Linked DNA regions of Homo sapiens: region 2 is linked to region 1. Evidence: promoter capture Hi-C in 16 types of primary human blood cells and fetal thymus (Javierre and others, 2016). All regions are on one chromosome and are shown on one strand. Each heading gives the region's core, a stretch centred on a gene start or on the middle of the fragment in contact. The rest is flanking DNA. Distances are from core to core; before and after follow the strand shown.

The links. The method cuts DNA at HindIII sites, captures the fragments that hold promoters and counts their contacts. A CHiCAGO score of 5 or more calls a contact.
Region 2: a contact is called between a fragment that was not itself captured here and the fragment with the promoter of PTH in region 1, in 1 of 17 cell types (neutrophils). The highest score is 5.8, in neutrophils.

What each region holds. Positions count from the first base shown.
Region 1 is chr11:13,494,372-13,497,824 of GRCh38, forward strand. It overlaps PTH (parathyroid hormone), which reads right to left and starts at 1,626. Exons shown (of 3, transcript NM_000315.4): 1 at 1,540-1,626. RefSeq lists promoters at 1,559-2,309, 1,571-2,630, 1,623-1,785 and an enhancer at 2,000-2,021. The HindIII fragment of the contact is 1,846 bases long and covers 336-2,181 here.
Region 2 is chr11:13,915,804-13,919,256 of GRCh38, forward strand. No RefSeq gene overlaps it. Among named protein-coding and RNA genes, the nearest start is that of LINC02683, 7.3 kb to the right of the region's middle. The HindIII fragment of the contact is 2,475 bases long and covers 293-2,767 here.

The DNA of each region.
Region 1 (3,453 bases), core at 376-2,875:
AATTCAGAACCTCTGTGATAAGCAATGCCTCTGTCATACAGAATGCTGGATCTCAGTTTACTGAGCCTCTCCCTGTAGTGTCACAGGCTGTGCACTCACCTAGATGAGCCCCTAAGAGCAGGGTTTGCTTCTGCTTCATCTAATGCCACATCTTCCCTCAAATGTGTGGTCACCAAATGTTCTGCAAAAAGGGTCTCTAGCTTTTTACTTTTCTTTTTGGCAAATTAAGCCCTTTAAAATACTTCTGACCTATCTTTATACTCAGATCTCACCTCATCTCAAGTTTTATGGGGTAATGCGCCAGTGAAAGGTACAGTGGTATTAGTGAGTTCTGAAGCTTCTAATTACATAGACAATAGAGGCTGGCTGGTGAGCCATGCTTCTCATGCTCCCTTCTGTCACACTGCAGAAATCTTAAGCTACAAGAGGAATGAAAGAGCCTATTTTTGAGAAATCCCCCCGCACTGCATTTTATGTTGATTATACCTAAATGTTTATAACTTGCTTGAAAATGCCTAATTTTCTTCATAGTGTAAATTGTTAACACTATTTACGTAGCAAATCCTTTTCTTAAGTAACCTTCATTTCAGGCATTGTAATAACCATAAATACCAAACTAATAGGTGCTAATCTAGAGATTTTCACTAAATTAATTCACATTTCTCCTAGCATTAAAAATAATGTGTCAAAGCATTTAAAAATCATCTGATTAATTACTTGTGATATGGATTTCGAGCTTTATCTCTGAATGGAATGCTTGTTTGTAGCTTATTTCTTCAACTTATTTTATTAACAATTATCTTTTAATATAACTTTTGTCTCTTTCCTCGTTTCACATCAGTATAGGATATTCTTGCCTTAATCTGCATTTCAGTACTTGCAAAGGCTGTTATTATAGAAGTGCTTTTCCTTAATGCTCAGTGTACTACCTTTTAACATACACATAGAGTAGTTATGTACTCCTATTTTACAGGGAAACTGCATCATTTAGAAATAGCATAGGAAATACTGTTTTCAGAATACAGCTGTCATTTATGTAAAGGAAATAAATATTTACTAGTCAAACTGGGCTTATCCAACTTTAGTATACAGATTGGGCTCTTTATGAGCCATAAAATAAATAATCTAGATAAGAATACTCTGCAGGAAAAACAGAATATTAACTCCACTTAATAAATTTATAAAGATTATTTAAATCAGAACTATTCATTCACCATCAACCTGTTTTATTTCAAAATTTTGACACCGATACTATTATATTAAAGCATAGCATGCCAAATTTTAATGATTTTTTGTTGTAATTTCAGATGAGGTTTTAAAAGGCAAGGTATCTCAGAAGACTTTAATCAAAAAGGATTTTGTGATTTGAGTAGCATTAATTTATTTTGTATGTGGCATTTTATATTAAACATAACTCAAACTTCTTAGCATTTTACCTTGAAGAAACAACATGGTATTTGTAGAAATGGTACACATTAAATAATAACTTGATTATCAAAATCTCATGAGATTCAGAAGTGAATTTTTAAGTTTACTTACCATACAATGTCTTAGAACAAGATCTTCGTTCAGGTATGTTAGTAGCTGATGCTGAGTAAACTAAAGACAACTGATGAATTGGACTGCAGACCCCTTAAATGGTGACTTTTATATATAGGTCTTCTGCTTACCAAGAGAGGCTCTTTTATTGTTACAGATGATGTCACTCCCAATTCTCTGGATCTCAACTATAGGTTCAAAGCAGCACATACACACACCCATTGGGCGGTGCACACTCTTCTTAAGTTTCAGATAATTGGATACTAAAAGGAAAACAGCATTTGGCTTGACAAGGGGCTTATGCAAAGACTTTTAACAAATACAGAATTATACCATCGAGAAAAATTCTATGTGGATTAATGAATCTGAATTTATACTGTAAAAAGACTGATTTCAAAGGTTTATGATAAAGTCATTATCTTACTTGAAAATAAAACCCAAAAATAAGTGTATTTGTTATAACCGTACTGTTGGTACAGTTTTTATGGTAATAAATCATAAATGTTAGGCTTACTTTACAAGCCATTTTCAACCAATCCATGTCACTTCTGGTCATCTTTCAAAAAACAGATATAGCCCTTTTCTTAAAGGAAGTGTTAAGAATAATTTGAGAAAATGCTCTTAGTACATAATTACTTTAAAAGCTTCAAAAGTGAAATTATTTTAAAATTTATTTAACTTATATTTTATTTGTGCATCTTAATCTATAATAATAACATTTGATAAGCACTAACTGCATGCCTAACTACATATATTATCCCACTAGATCTTCACAGCAGTCCTTTAAAGTTAGTACTTAAAGTACTAAAGTTAAGTGCTTATCCCCATTTTTACATGAGGAAACTTAGGCTTGGAAAGCAGAAAAGATGGAATTCAACAAAGGTCTTTATGACACCAGATTCTTACTACCTCAGTTTCTGCCTAGAAATACAGCCCTTCTTTGAACTCCAGTCTTCTTGACTTTAATTTGCAAAGTCATCTGAAAACACAGCAAAAGCTCTTTGCAACATTTTCCCCTAGGGGTTAGGTCTTTATTCTCATGTTCCCTAAGGGATGATGAGAGCCTGCTCCAAAACCTATTGGAGGCATGATGCTGCCACATGTCTGACTTCAAATATTCCTCCAGCAATATTTTCCTGGTCCACCTGTCAAAACACCCTGAATGTCTTTGATATATCTAGGACTCCTTTAGACAGCTTTGCCTTCCCACCAAAGATCCGGTGCCAGAGTGGGATCAGTTCTCTCAGCTCTGGTCCCATCCTGGCTTCATGTCATCCTTTTTCCTACTAGCCATTGTCAAGGTTTGACTCTACCTTAGGTAAGAGCCAGTACAAATTTGAATAGTAACCGTATGGAGTTTATAATGAGAGATATATACTAGTCCTGTCCTAGGAGATTCTCCACTCTGGGTTAACCTCACTTAGAGTGTTGCTCCAGGCTCCATTTTAGAAGCAGTAGAAACAAATGGGAACATACACTGAGGATATCAATCAGTTTGGTGAAAATGTTGAAAACTATAACATGAGAAGTAGTTGAATGAAACTAGAAAAGTCTGAGGAAAAAAAGACGGGATGACTTTATAGCTGTGTTTAATTATTTATAGGGTTACCATAAGGAAGAAGGAGTATTCTCTGTGGTTTAAGAAGGAAGGGCTGGGTTCATTGGGTTTAACTTGGACATTATAATTGTCAAAATAAGGAATCAAGTACCTTCTCAAATAGTGATTTCTCCATCACTGAGAATATTCAAGTAGAAGGTAGATGAGCATTTATCAGGCATACTATAGAGATTCATACATAGAAGAAAGTTGAACTAGATAACCAAGAGGTCTCTTTTAACTGTAAAAATCTGTTGTCTTGATCTTTTTAAAGACCTCTTCTGATGCAAACTCTACATGTGATGTTTGTGTGTCAT
Region 2 (3,453 bases), core at 280-2,779, 420 kb after region 1:
GGATTGAATTTGTAGATCGTTTTTGGCAGTGTGGTCATTTTCACAATATTGATTCTACCCATTCATGAGCAGGAATGTGTTTCCATTTGTGTCATCTATGATTTCTCTCAGCAGTGTTTTGTAGTTTTCCTTGTAGAGGTCTTTCACATCTTTGGTTAGGTGTATTCCTAAGTATTTTATTTTTCTTGCAAGTATTGTGAAAGGGGTTCAGTTCGTGATTTGATTCTCAGCTTGGTCTCAGTTGGTGTATAGCAGAGCTATTGATGTGCGTACATTGATTTTGTATCCTGAAAGCTTTGCTGAATTCATTTACCAGTTCTAGGAGGTTTTAGGTTGAGTCTTTAGGGTTTTCTAGGTATACGATCATATCATTAGCCAACAGTAGCCCTTTTGTCTTGTTCCAGTTCTCAGGGGGAATGCTTTCAACTTTTCCTCTTTCAGTATAAGGTTGGCTTGTCACAGATGGCTTTTATTACCTTAAGGTATGAGATGTGGTAAATTTTGAGATGTCTATTAAACATCCAAATGAAGATGTCTGCATAACAGTTGAAAATACGTGTCTGGAGTTTAAGAGAGAGGTGAATGAAAACATCTCACTATAAAAAACAGAGGAGAAATCCTAGGGTTTTCTCTATTTGTAATTTAATAACTCCTGGTCTTGACCCTATCAGCTCCAGGGCAAAGACCTGAAGATGAAAAGTAATGGCGTGTTTGAGACACTAAAAGATACTCAGTGTGGGTGAATGTGGAATGTGGGGGGAAAATGGATCAAGAGGATCATAATTAGCTTGGACTTTGTTCAGGTGAGAATAGGAGGCCATAAAAGGGTTTAAAGGAGAGAAGATGTGTGCTTTAGCGAGAGGACTCAATCAGTCATGAAGACTAAATTGAAGAGCAAGGCTGTAGGCAAGAGGCCTGACCAGAAGCTGCTTCAGTAGCTCAGGTGAAAAAGACTGGAGGCTTTTACCAAGGCAGTGGGAAAAGATGGAGATAAGCAAGTGGGTTCCAGTTATATTTGGATTTAGAATCAGCAGGGCTTAGGGAGTGATTGGAAATAAAGGGTGGGCAAAGAGTGTGAAGGGAATTGAGGGTTCCAGGTTTCTGGCTTAGATGGCAGTGCCACTTACCAAAATGGAGATGAAGGAAGAGAAGCTGATTTGGTAAGGCCGAGGGTGAGTTTAGTTTTGCATATATTGTGCTCAAGGTGACTGGAAAATCCAAACTATACAGTTGAGTGTGTGCATCTTAAACCCCTGGGTAAAATCTGAACTGTGCATATTTGGGATACACACACAATACACACACCCACACAAAACAAAGAGTGTGTGTGCGTGTGTATGTGTTGTGTGTGCATATCCCAAACATGTGCAGATGAGGTCATCCAGGGCTAGTGTAGAGCATGCAAAGACAAAAAGACAAAACCCCAAGGAACCCTACATTATCCATATGCACGTCTAATTCATCTTTTTAACAACCCCATGAGTTAAATTTTATCTTTTCTGATGCAAATCAATGAGAATGACTGAAGTGAGTCACAATCATTTCAGAGGTTTATTTTGCCAAGGTTGAGGACATACCTAAGAAAAAGGAACACAAAACCACAGGAACATCTGTGATCTGTGCTTTTTCCAAAGAGGGTTTGGGAACTTCAGCTTTTAAAGGGGAAAGAGTGGGCAGTAGGGGAAAGAGAAGTGAAAAAAGAAGGAGAAGGTTAGATAAAAGGGGGAAGCAGTGTCATTGTTTTGAGTCTTTGATCAGCCTTCACTGAATCCATGTTTTACATGTAAAAGGAGGGGATCGAGGAAGAGTCAGTTATGCATTCATCTCATGCTCTGTGAATCTGCATTGTTACATAAGATGAAGTAAACATAGAGTAGAGGAAGCAGTCAAACATGCATTCATCTCAGGTGAATGGAGAGATGACTTCTGGTTCTGTCCTTGGTTCTATATCCGTGAAGATAAGCTGTTAATTTACATTGTCAAGGTGAAATTCAACAGAACTGATTTAGGGTAAAGATCTTGGGGCCCACAAGGAATTGCCTTGTGAGCAAATTGTGAGGGAGGTATGTAGCCTTTTATCTTTGTAACTATCTATTTAAGAACAAAATGGGGGGAAGTTTGGATTGACTCAGTCCCCAAGTTTGACCTTTCCCTTTGGCATAGTGAGTTTGAGGGTCCTGAGATTTTAATTTTCCTTTCACACTGTTTTCTCCACAGCTGAATGATGAAACAACCATAGGCATTTCCCAGTTCCCGGCCTCAGGAGGCCTATTTGTGTAACATCTGGGACCCTTTGCCAAATCAGCTTACATGTGGGTTATACATTTATTACACGAGGCATCCCTGCTGTGTGTAAAGCACATGAAGAAATCTTGAATACTGTCATGAAGCCTCCTTAAAAATGCTAGTATGAAGTATCCTACACAGGTTAAAATTAGAACCCTCCCTCCCATTTTTGCAATCTTTGGGTAAGGATATTTGGGCTGACACTGCAGTTTAGATTGAAAGCCAAGAAAGTTATCAACATGGTAAAAGTCAAGTTATAGGACCCCAGAGATCAGACAGGACGTGGAAGTCTTCATACATGAAAATAGTCTTTGGTCCACAAAGGTGAGAAAAGTAATAAAATTCCCACAGGTTTCTTCTAGTAAGATAATTGGTCAGAAGAAAATATCACAAATGCAAGGTATTGTGCTATTATTTTAGCACCTTTCTTGTAGGAATACATAGGAAGAAATGTAAAATATTCCTATAGAATCTTTAGAGAAGCTTTCCATGTGGGCTGATCCCAAGTACTAGGACAGAATACAGGCTTTTGAAAGGAGCTTTTAAAAATAATAGATAAGTGTTTTTTCTTTTGAAAATTGTTATATTGTGTGGTTTTAAAATATTTAAAATCTCCAAACAGAAATCCACTGAAGTGCAATAATTTTATTGTAGGATAGACTGAAAACAATATTTAACCCAGCAACTGGGCATCAAAGTGAGAAAGATTATATGCTAGAATGGCACAGGGAACGTGTTCCATGGTCTGCATTGCTGACTGCCACAGAACGCCTTGGGAGCAGGCTTGAGGCTTTCAGTGTCATTATGTAAGTACTCATAGACCACTTAGCCATGAGATATGACTTGTACATTTATATAAAGGAGAAAAGAAAGTCATTTTCCAAGTTAGTTTCCACAGCAACAATATTCCATATTTTCTTCTTCTGTGTCTAAACATGAGCATGCCTCAACTAGGGGGTGGAATATAATTCTTGCAAAATACCAGTTAAGACCAACCGTGAGTGTGAAAGCTTCAGGGATCACATTCATTCAACAAGCACTGATTACAAGCCTACCCTAGACCAGGAACTGTGGGAGACCTTGGAGATGTAGGGAGGAAGAAGCCCCAAGGTCTGCCCTCTAGATCCTTGTGTGCAATGAGAAAGAGCCAGATAGAAGGATGAATTA